2 separate regions of the Homo sapiens genome follow, and region 1 is linked to region 2. The links are contacts of gene promoters, found by promoter capture Hi-C in blood cells and fetal thymus (Javierre and others, 2016). All regions are on one chromosome and are shown on one strand. Each heading gives the region's core, a stretch centred on a gene start or on the middle of the fragment in contact. The rest is flanking DNA. Distances are from core to core; before and after follow the strand shown.

The links. Contacts are between HindIII fragments. The CHiCAGO score rates a contact against its expected background, and 5 or more counts as called.
Region 1: the fragment with the promoter of WBP11 here is called in contact with a fragment that was not itself captured in region 2 in 11 of 17 cell types (non-activated CD4 T cells, total CD8 T cells, naive CD8 T cells and 8 more); the score reaches 15.8 in non-activated CD4 T cells.

The regions. Positions count from the first base shown.
Region 1 is chr12:14,801,736-14,807,596 of GRCh38, reverse strand. It overlaps WBP11 (WW domain binding protein 11), which reads left to right and starts at 4,119. Exons shown (of 12, transcript NM_016312.3): 1 at 4,119-4,245. It overlaps C12orf60 (chromosome 12 open reading frame 60), which reads right to left and starts at 3,927. Exons shown (of 2, transcript NM_175874.4): 1 at 3,846-3,927. SMCO3 (single-pass membrane protein with coiled-coil domains 3) reads left to right here. Exons shown (of 2, transcript NM_001013698.2): 2 at 901-2,947. The coding sequence starts at 917. The coding sequence ends at 1,594. RefSeq lists an enhancer at 3,584-3,823. The HindIII fragment of the contact is 2,157 bases long and covers 2,437-4,593 here.
Region 2 is chr12:15,886,376-15,891,988 of GRCh38, reverse strand. STRAP (serine/threonine kinase receptor associated protein) reads right to left here. Exons shown (of 10, transcript NM_007178.4): 3 at 1,980-2,061; 4 at 1,320-1,392. Among named protein-coding and RNA genes, the nearest start is that of STRAP, 6.8 kb to the right of the region's middle. The HindIII fragment of the contact is 606 bases long and covers 2,249-2,854 here.

The DNA of each region.
Region 1 (5,861 bases), core at 2,870-5,369, 1.1 Mb after region 2:
ATCCTTTAGGTTTAGAAAACAAATAACTTGCCTGTAGAGATATATAAAGTGACTTGAATATTTTAAGTTAAAATAACCAAGTATTGAAATACAAAAAACAGCCCTGTAAATTTAGAGATGTTAATATTTATCTGGCCCTGACTAGAGTTTAACTCCAAATGCTAGAGAAATCAGTCTGGTAGGTGTGGTCAATGTGGTGACTAGGGGTTCGGGAAACTAAGGAGCACTAGTAATCAAGAGCTAAGCATTTCAAATTGGGGTCTGTTTCAAATAAAAGTTATTAAATATTACCTAGAAATAATCACGCTTATTAATAAACAGATGCTTGACAAACGATGAATATTTCTCACCACCACAAAATCTAATAACTTAATTTATCCATCAAAGGGTTGTATTCTGTTGCCTACACTTTCCATACACTGACTCCAAATTTCATAAAAATAACTGTTTTAAAGAACCTGCTGAGGGCGGGCACAGTGGCTCACGCCTGTAATCCTAGCACTTTGGGAGGCCAAGGCAGGTGGATTACCTGAGGTCAGGAGTTGGAGACCAGCCTGGGCAACATGATGAAACCCTGTCTCTACTAAAATACAAAAATCTAGCTGGGCATGGCAGTGTATGCCTGTAATCCCAGCTACTCGGGAGGCTGAGGCAGGAGAATTGCTAGAGCCTGGGAGGCAGAGGTTGCAGTGAGCTGAGATCGCACCACTGCACTCCAGCCTGGGTGACACAGCGATACTCCCTCTTTTAAAAAAACTTGTTGAGTGTTCTGAGGAATTATCCTTAGACAGCATCTTGCTTCTTTGCTATGCATGAAGAAAAAGATTTCCTAGTCCCTTCTACACAGTTAGCAGACATTTTTTAAGACTTTCAGTAAAAATTTACCATTTTATTTTTCAGCGATCATATTGGAAATATGGCCCAAAGTGACTTCCTTTACCCAGAGAACCCAAAAAGGCGGGAAGAAGTAAATCGTCTTCACCAGCAGCTTCTTGATTGCTTATCTGACAGCTTCGATGTCACCAATAAGCTGACTGAGGTTCTAAATATGCACTTGGGGTGCAGGCTGGCCTCCATTGAGATGAAAAGAGATGGGACCATCAAAGAAAACTGTGACCTCATCATCCAAGCCATTATGAAAATCCAAAAGGAATTGCAGAAGGTTGATGAAGCACTAAAAGATAAGCTAGAGCCAACCCTCTATAGAAAACTTCAGGATATTAAGGAAAAGGAAACAGACAAAATTGCAATAGTGCAAAAGGTTATTTCGGTCATCCTGGGAGAAGCTACATCTGCAGCCAGTGCAGTCGCTGTTAAACTTGTGGGCTCAAATGTCACAACTGGCATAATTAACAAGTTGGTCACTGTGTTAGCTCAAATTGGTGCTTCTCTCCTTGGTAGTATTGGAGTTGCTGTTCTTGGCCTTGGCATAGATATGATTGTCCGTGCCATCCTGGGAGCAGTGGAAAAAACACAGCTTCAAGCAGCCATCAAAAGTTATGAGAAGCATCTGGTGGAGTTCAAATCAGCCTCAGAAAAATATAATCATGCCATTACTGAGGTCATCAATACAGTGAAACACCAAATGAAATGAACAGCCGTTTTATTTGCCACTGAAGTGTTTTTCTGCTTCCTTTTCAGTAACAGTGTTTGCTTCTTTGATTAGGTTCATTTTCTATAGGCTTCCAATATGGACTTAAATAAGATAAACAATTTGGAGAGGGAAACTGGAGATGCCAAGACTAGATGACTAGATGAGTTTTGAGTCAACAATGCCTGGATCAGCTGATGCTAGACCCTGTGAGGTAAAAAAATTTTCTCCCTGGATGTTTTCACACCCTGCTCTACCAGATCAACATTGGGGTAAATGCTATCGTAGAGTAGCAAGTATAGGGGTTACTTTTCTCTTTTCTAATTTCAGTAAAATTCTTAAATTTCACATTGAATGCAGAGACTTTCATTTCTACCACCAGCTTCAAACATCATTTAGTTATAAGGGGACATACTCAGTAACTTCTGCCTAGACACAAACTCTAGGCCTTCGAATGAGACAGAAATACTACCATATTTTTGACCATCAGAGTAAATCTGGTTTTCTGTAAACTAGAAGAGACTGAAAAATGGTTTGTAACAATGTGCTTCAATTAGGACAGGAAGCTGATCTGTAAACGTCTACTGATTACACAATGTAAACCGGATGGATTTGAAAATGGTAAAAATCAAAACTAAAAACATCAAGGTCCTGTTTCAGTCACTGCAATCAACCCTGACCAACTGTGATAATTAAATATCGCTCAAGTGAATGTTCAAACACTGAAACATTTAGAAGACAAGAAAGCAAAACACAGCTACACATATTGCATTTAGGATGCAGAATAGAAGGTCACTACTCAAAGCATTTGTCATTTAAAAGAAAGTCATAATTTATTATAAGCTTTCAGAAAAAAGAATATAATTTCATTTTCAACACTAGCAAAAAGGAGGCAGCTGCCTTTGCTACATGACGCATTAGGTGGGCCATTTCACTAATTACCTGATTTTAGAAAACGCCAAAGGCTATGGAAGCCTATTAATGGTTCCGCTGAATCTCTGCAGATGTGTTTGTTTTCTAAATCCTTTGCCAACCAATAATTCCCATGAGGACTCTTTTAGTCTATACTGACAAAATTATTAATATGCTGTTGATGCCAGACTGTGTTTGTTATAGTTGATTCTCCCATCCAAGTACAAGAAATGTATTGAAATAAAAACTGCTCAGCATATCTTAAAAATAGTAGCTACATATAAAATTTTAGCTACATGAAAGACTTTAATATTTCCAACATACACTGTTTTCTCTTTCTCTTCTTGCATTGTTTTTCAAAACGAGTTGCAAAACTATGATCACTAATGTGTTAGGAAAGAAAAAAAACTAGTTGCAAAACATTACAACTTAGCTCACCTTCGCAGTTCAAGATTATTTTCTTTTTTATGTACTACCTGGTTTATCAGCTTTAACCTACAATATCTCGTCATTGCTTTCTGACACTCAAATTCAGTCTAAAATCAAATCAAGAATTTCCTAACACAAAGGTAAGTTTAGGTATAGGACCGATCTTATACCTTCAAGGGCAGTTTAAAGATTCTGCTAAAAATTAGTATGTATCTCCATCAATATTTTGAAATATTTATAACTGGTGGTAAGAATAGCCTTCCTACATGGGATAGTCAGGTTAAGATTAGAAATAACCAAGCGTATCCTCTAAGATAGTTTTTTAAATGTTTAAACTTACCTTTAAGGGAAATAAGTGGGGGCTGACTCACGGAAAGAGGGGATAGAAGGTAGGGAAAGGGCGAAGGCTAGAGTTAAGTGAAGAATCCCGTACGTAGAGTGACATCATAGAGGACTTTTGGCTGGTGAAAAGACCAGTCGGGAATATAGCCAATATATATCAACCTTGCCACTCATATAACTTAAAACCGACTGCATATGTATCCCCGTATTTCTTCTTCAAAACACTACTAACAAATAATAAATCACCGCCCATATAAGCAATCTGCGACTCTAATACGGGTGCTAATTTATTTGTTCAGGTGGTCTACAAACGTTCTGTTCTGCCTGTCTATTAAATTTCCACACGTACTAGGCGCTCACATGGGATAACCTGATGCTTACAAAGCGGATTAAACTCAGTGGCAAATGTTATCTGGGTATTCGTTTACACACGGAGACACCCCTAAAGGATCGCACCTGCTTGGGTCATAAGAAACAGAAAAATGCAAAAACTAAGGTAATTCCAAAAGACAGAAAACGCAGAACGCTTCTTTATCTGCAGAATGTACCGTTCTCGGACGGCTCAACGTACCAGGCTCCCAGCAACTAAGTCAAGATGCCTCCAACTCGAGAGACAGGACCGTCAGCCACTCAGTTAGCAGCTATCTTCTTCTAATTCCTATTGTACTAGATGAGCGCAATGAGGCGGGCTCTTAGCCGACAACCAACCAATTGAGTATTGTATGGAACCGGAAGAGACTCTGGTCCTGGAATTCTTGGGTATTCTCTATGGTTCCAGGGTCAAGCGGCGCTAAGAGAAGGCGGGACAGAGGAATGGGAAATGACGTGAGGAGTGCGGAGGGGCGCGAGGTTTCAAGATGGCGGTAGCTGAGGGGTTGACCGAGAGACCCAGTTGAAGGCCTTTACGAAGTGAAAGAGGCCGGGAGTCGCCCCCTACCCGCTTCTCGTAGTCCTGGGAGCACAGCAGAAGTGTGAGTGTATTGAATTGATTTACTACTCTTCCTCACCTCTTTCGTCCCTTCCACGTCCCGCGCAGCGGCTTGGGGGACACCCAGCCCCTTTGCCCCGCTCCTCCTCTCCCTGGTTGAGGTCTCCCTGTTGCGGACTGGGCTATTCCTGGGCCTGGGGTGGCGCGGCGACCAGTGGTTGCGCGGTTGGCATCGCCCGGGTCGGTTGGGGCCGCTTCTTACGCACGTTGATTAGTAGCCTTAGGTTTGACGTCTTGTACCTCGAGTCATGGTCGGTCAGCCGTCGCTATGGTTTCGTCAGTTGCTGGTGTTGCCTCCTTTGGTGAACCTGGACCCTATCCCATTGAAGCTTCTTTGGCTGTTTAGAGTTATCCAACGCTTATTTGGCTTGATTTTCCAGTCGCCTCCGCTTGTAGACAAAAAACTAATCTGCAGACTTAAGCTCCAGTGTCTTCCGTAAAATTCTCTGTAATTCGTATCCGTTGTGTTTCATTTGTGGGGGAGGAGATTCAGAACATGAGCCTGAGGAAACTTGAGAAAGGAAAGCACAAAAAACGCAGGCAATCAAAGATGGGAGAGCTTGTATATGTACTGATTTTGCTTGTTTTCCTCCTTCCCTACCTCCTACTCCCTGCTGCTCTCCCACCCCCCTAACCCCCCCATCCCCAGTTTTTCTTAGAAGGAAACCACTTGACAGGGTGTATGGTAGCTAGGCCAGGAATATGGATCCATTATAAAGATTTTAGTTAAGTAGTGAGTCAAACATCACAGGATATTTTATTTGTAATCTCATTGTATCATCAGAGCTTTGTTATAAAGTAATTGATGTCCCCATTTTTTAGATGAGGAAGCTAAAAATCAGAGCCTTTGATACCGCTGTCTTGAAGTAATTGCCACCAGAACAGCTGTGAAACATCTGGCTTTCTGAAACATCTGGCTTTCGGGGCAGTTGGACACTTGGTGAAAGAGACATTAACTGTAATAAACTGGGCTGACAAAATCTTCCCTTTCTTACCTTTAAAAAGTGTCTACTTGCAAAAGGAAGCAAATTTGTCCGCCTTTATTACTGGAAAGACTGCGCTTCAAAAAATTAAGCCCCATTATTTTGGAATAAGAGGAAGAAGTCATGTAATAGGGTACTGTGTTAATAAAAGTTTTAGCTTACAAAATATTTTTTCCTCAAACAAAAATAAGTATTCCCTTTAATTACCTTAAGAAATATATATTGGGAGTCAGGTCTTAGTAAGAAAAATATGTGTCTTAATATTTAAGTTTTGGGGAGCTCTCAGTATAGCACTAATTTCAAATATTTGCATTTTTAGTTGTGTTTTGAACTCTTGAGAGTCAAGCATTATATCTGAACTAGAACTGAATCTGAATTAAATATGCTTAAATTAATGAGTTTTTAGTGTCTTAGAAGTATTGAGAATGTACAGCATACATGCCAAGAAAAACCATGGAGAGAGGCAAAGGTGAGGTATGTGTTTTGAGCCTAGATCCATTACCCCCATTCCCTTCTTATTCTTCTTTTACAATTACATGTTAATAAAGGGAGGTTATAGAAGAAGGACTAATGAATTCTGATGTTCATGGTTTGTGCCATATCGTTAAAGCATTTT
Region 2 (5,613 bases), core at 1,302-3,801:
GGTAGTATCTATCAATGGCTTCCAACAATTCATTTTTTTTTTTTCTTTTTGAGAAGGAGTTTTGCTCTTGTCCCCCAGGCTGGTATGCAATCTCGGCTCACTGCAACCTCTACCTCCCGGGTTCAAGCGATTCTCCTGCCTCACCCTCCTGAGTACCTGGGAATTACAGGCGCCTGCCACCATGCCCAGCTAATTTTTTTGTACTTTTAGTAGAGATGGGGTTTCACCATGTTGGCCAGGCTGGTATTGAACTCCTGACCTCAGGTGATCCACTCACCTTGGCCTCCCAAAGCACTGGGATTACAGGCGTGAGCCACTGCGCCCGGCCACCTTCCAACAATTCCACTCCTCTTTGTCCCACCAATTCTACTTTTGCTTAGTTATCTTAAGGAAATCATTGTGAAAATATTTGCAACTGTAAGGATGTTTAGCATAATACTGCTTTTCATATTTAAAATCTGTAAGTAGCCCAAACGGGCCAAAACAGGAAACTAGTTAATTCACTTATGATATAACCACAGGATGGAAAACCAGAAAGTCATTACAAACAGTTCATAGACTATTTAGTGAAATGAAAAAACTGTAACTGCAGATTTTTTAAAATTCTTTCGAATAGCTAATATATTTACATGGTTCAAAAATCTAAGCAATATGTGCACACAACTGAGAATTCTCACCATCACCAACTTCTATAAATAACCAATCTTTCTTACCAAAAAATAGTAACACTGTTCTGCACTGTTTTAAAACTTAATGATAAAAATTTGCCATAATAAATTTTCAGTTTGGAAGAAGGTTATACAATAGCAACATAGCAAATAAACTTATTTTTTAAAAACTGTGCAGAAAAAAAGACTGAAAGTTTATAAACCAAAAACTGATGAATTACGTTTTAATTTTCTTCTTTGTTGACTATTTTTTTTTTTTTGAAACTGAGTTTCACTCTTATTGCCCAGGCTGGAGTGCAGTGGCGCAATCTCGGCTCACTGCAACCTCCACCTCCCGGGTTCAAGCGATTCTCCTGCCTCAGCCTCCCAAGTAGCTGGGATTACAAGCGCCTGCCACCATGCCTGGCTAATTTTTCTATTTTTAATAGAGACGGGGTTTTGCCATGTTGGCCAGGCTGGTCTCGAACTCCTGACCTCAAGTGATCCACCCGCCTCAGTCTCCCAAAGTGCTAGGATTACAGGTATGAGCCACCGTGCCCGGCCATGACTATCTTTATTTTCCAAATTTGAGTACTGAGCATGAAATTCTTTAATCAGTTATTTAAATTAAAAGAAAATAAAACTAGAAGCTGATGTTTAAATTATGCTTACCTGCTTCAGGTTTGTTCAAGTCATATATGCGTAACAGTTTATCCTGTCCCCCGGTTAACAAATAATTACTATCCTGAAAACACAAAGTAAAATGTGAATAGATTAACCATTTTAATAGTTATTTCTCTTTCAAATTTCAACACCAAATAAAATCAAAATCTAGCTCACAGACATCACAAAGAGATGCCAAGACATAACCAATTACTTCTGAGAAGATACTGTGGAACAGCTGACCTCTCATAACTGCCAAGACTTGTAAGCTTTCCACTTCAAAAGCGTTACACTACACTACATATACATGAACTCTCCCATTCTCCCCTGATCCTACTCCTCTCCCTTGTGAGAGGCCCTTTTCTGATTATCTCAAATTTATCTTCTCCCTTCTATTAGTAGTTGGGGAAGGCTACTTGAGCTTTTCAGATGTTTTTTACATGTTGAAGGACTGGTACTCGTTCCACAGTATCTTAAAAGCTTGACAGGATTAACTATGAAACAAATTCATAGAGCTTAATACACAATCAAATCAAATATGAACCAAGAAATAACAAATATTCCACACAAAACATATCAATCAAATATACACACCAATCAAGTATAAAAGCATTATCACACTATGTACCAGCAACTTAACTCGCTAAAATAAATTCCATTTTCTGATACCTGCGTGAAATCCACAGTCTTGACAATGTGTTTATGAGCCAGGGTCATCAATTCATCTCCTGAGACAGCATCCCACACTTTGCTAAAAGTAAAAAAGAGAAAATTAGTAGGATAAATATTACCCAATATATTAAAAGGATAAATACAATTATAATATTGATGAGTACCAAATAAGTTAGATATGTGAAATGTTACATAAATGTATTATAAATCTCCTTTATCTCTAATATCCCTCACAGACTTCATTTGATAAAATATTTAAATAAGCTTAAGGGAAAAGAAATTTCTCTGTAAAAACTTTATAACCAATCTAATTTTCTTTGACAGTGGAAAAGATATGAACAATTTAAGCAAGTAAGATTCATGAACCAACCCATCCTCCTTACTTTTATTTTAGCTGACAGCCATAATATCCCTTTAGCAAGCCTGTCATACATTTTAACCAATTTTTAGTTTCACCATGCCAATTTTTTCTCTATTCTCCACTCAGATGCACAATAAAAAATAAAAATAAATAAAAAAACCAGAAATCCTTAAAAATGTTACAAGGGAATGAAAAGCCTTGGTACAGGCTAAGTAAAATTTTAAATTAAGATAGTGGAGAGACAATGTCCACTTCATCTCTTCTTCAAAGCTGACTTAAAATTTCAAACTCTAGTACAGTTAACTTCCCCCAAACTATCAGCCTTTGATTATATAATGCTAACACTGACTATTTTAATCTTTACATTGTTTTTTCTGTCCCACCCCACCCCAAAATACAAGTTGGTTATAGGTATACATACATTTATATGTGTATGTATATTCTGGGCGGGTAATAGTTGAGCAATACTTTACAAAATTACTCTAAAAGGGTTCCCCCAAATAAAAAAGCTTAAGGAAGGGGGAAAAAAAAGTTGATTTTAGATCAGAACAGGTCAGTGAAAAATAAACAAGAAAACTTTGCAGACAGGGAAAAGAATTGCTAAGAGTGAAAAAGCTATGTTCCATAGAGATTTCCATTTTAATGCAACTGCTATTTATTTTCAGGAACACAGTGGGCAATAAAATGGTAGAGGGAAAAAAATCAGAGAAAAGCAAGATGTATCTTTTCTTTTGCTTACCCCAATACATAATAAAATATATTAAATATATATCATTCTATACTTAGTGCTAAGGCACAAATGGGAGACAAAAAATACCCCACAGTAGGTTCTTGCCATAGTAGAGCTTTAGCTGAGGAGAAAAACATGCATTAAATATCACATTTAAGAAATATAATTAAAAGACATATATATGGCTATAAAAACTCAGAAAAAAGCACCTAGATATTGTCCAGAAAATGTAAGTAACAGAGCTAGCCGTCGGAAGAAGCAAAGAGAAATATATCAGGGGAAAAAGAAGGGAAGGCTATTCTAGATAAGCATTAATAGCATGTGCAATGTGGTTAATGAATATGAAAGACCATCTAACAGGAATGCTCATGATACACTACCAAAGCTTGCAATATTTAATAATGTGGGTCATGTGAGTGGCTGAATAAATATGTTCTGAAAGAAATAATGTCAACTATAAGTAGCCTTGCTGCTAAACTCCCTAGTATTCATTTCTCTTTGCCCAGGAAACTTGCTCCTCTCTCTGTCATTCCAATGCAACTCTCTGGCCCCAATCTACTTTCCCAACCTCATTTTGTATTGTTTCTCTGAATCTAGCAACACTAGATTATAAACCACTCCTCAAATAACTTACGTATTTTCTTCCAGGCTCCTATGTTCTTGTTTATATTATTCTCTTAAGTCTGTATTTTACATTCTTAGCTATTAAAGTTCTACTCACCCTTAGGGCTCATTTCAAATGCTATCTTTTCTTTGAAACTATTTATCCTCAACTCCAATAATTAACCATTCCTTTCTGTTCTCCCACAGAACTCCACTTATTACGGTGCTTAAATTTGCTTTGTTTTTTGTTTACATATATCCTTAATCACAGTGAAATGCATTTCATGGTTGTGGTAAGGGTTCACAAGTATTAGAATGACAGAAAGCATCAAAAGTGAAGAAAACAACAAATGTATCTAAAATTACTATTCTAATTATTCACAAGTCTCCAAAGAAACCCGGGCAATGTCCTTTGATATGCTAATTTCAAGTTTATTAAATAATCTCCCATAAACTTAAAACCTCTCTCTCTTTTTTTTTTTGAGACAGGATCTTGGTATATTGCCCAAGCTATACTTGAACTCCTGGCCTCAAGATCCTTCCACCTCAGCCTCCTAAGTAGCTACAGGCTAACGCCAACATGGCAGCTCTAAAATCTTAAGATTCTGCTTAGACTGTGTCTATTCAAAGGTGAGAAGAGAGTTGGAGTGACCAAAGTAGTAATATTAACCAGAGAGGTAATGTGTCTGTAGTTTTTCCTCCTATTTAGAAACAGTACTAAAATAGAGGCATGACATTTTCTGACAGGGCATGTACTAACTCTGGCAGATTTCCATTATTCACAGTAAGAGCCCTAAAATGGATCTAATCTAAATGTTTCCTAATGTATTATTCAATCTCCAGGCAAGAAATTGACATATATTAGTTGGCCACAGGGCTCAAATCAAGACAGTAAAGCGCTATTAACAATACCCTTTCAGCAGCTAACCCTCCAACATTTTCTTCACATCCCACGAAGTACTTGTCATCTCCTTAAACTACTGTTACCTCTTATACCCCAGTTTCTTGCAAATAATAATGCTGCCTGATACTTTCCATATCCTCAGAATGAACTTACCGTAAGTCTCATAATAGGAGCTGCTTAACTTACTTATTTAAACCTTCAACAAAACAGGCCAGTTTAAGATTTTTAAAAAATTGCCCAAATACCTTAACATGTTGACCAAGTCATCTAGGAGATAATACCATTTTCGATTTATCAAGAACCTTATTAAAACTAAAATTAGATATTTCTATTGGCTTTACAAGAAAGAAAGAGTGATACATTGTGATTACCTATAAATTCCTGGACCCAATCCCAGATCTACTTAAGCCCTCTTGGGAGCACAGCACAGAATTGTCTTTACTTTGGCACTCTTCCCAAATAGATACAAAGAGATGGTGTTTTAGGGACACTGTACTCAACACTGGACTCAATTGCCCGAATTACTCCAAGATAACATTCTACACTAGTCCACAGACCTATTCTGCTAAATTTCTCCACAAGAAACGGGACCAAATTCCACTTCTAAATGACCACACCATAAATGAGTTTTCCAAGAAACGTAAGAATGGAGGGAAAAAAAAATTGTTTCTAAAAATGCTTTATACCAACCATGACTAATCAGGTAGGCTGTGGGGAGTAACTTCTTGGAGAGAATACACACACACACAAACACGCACATGAAAACACGCTCCTACACCCCACAGACAAGACATAGAGGAAATGAGGGATAAATCTCAACTAGCATTTATTGAGCACCTACTATGTGACAGAGATCATATTGGACTTCAGGGATATATGGTGGAGAAAGATCTCTCTGTTCCTCCAATAATCTCATGGGTCTTAGTCCCATTTTACAGATATGAAAGCCGACATTTAAGAAACATCCTGCCATGGTGGGCAGATCGCTTGAGCCCAAGAGTTCAAGACCAACCTGGACAACATGGTGAAGCCC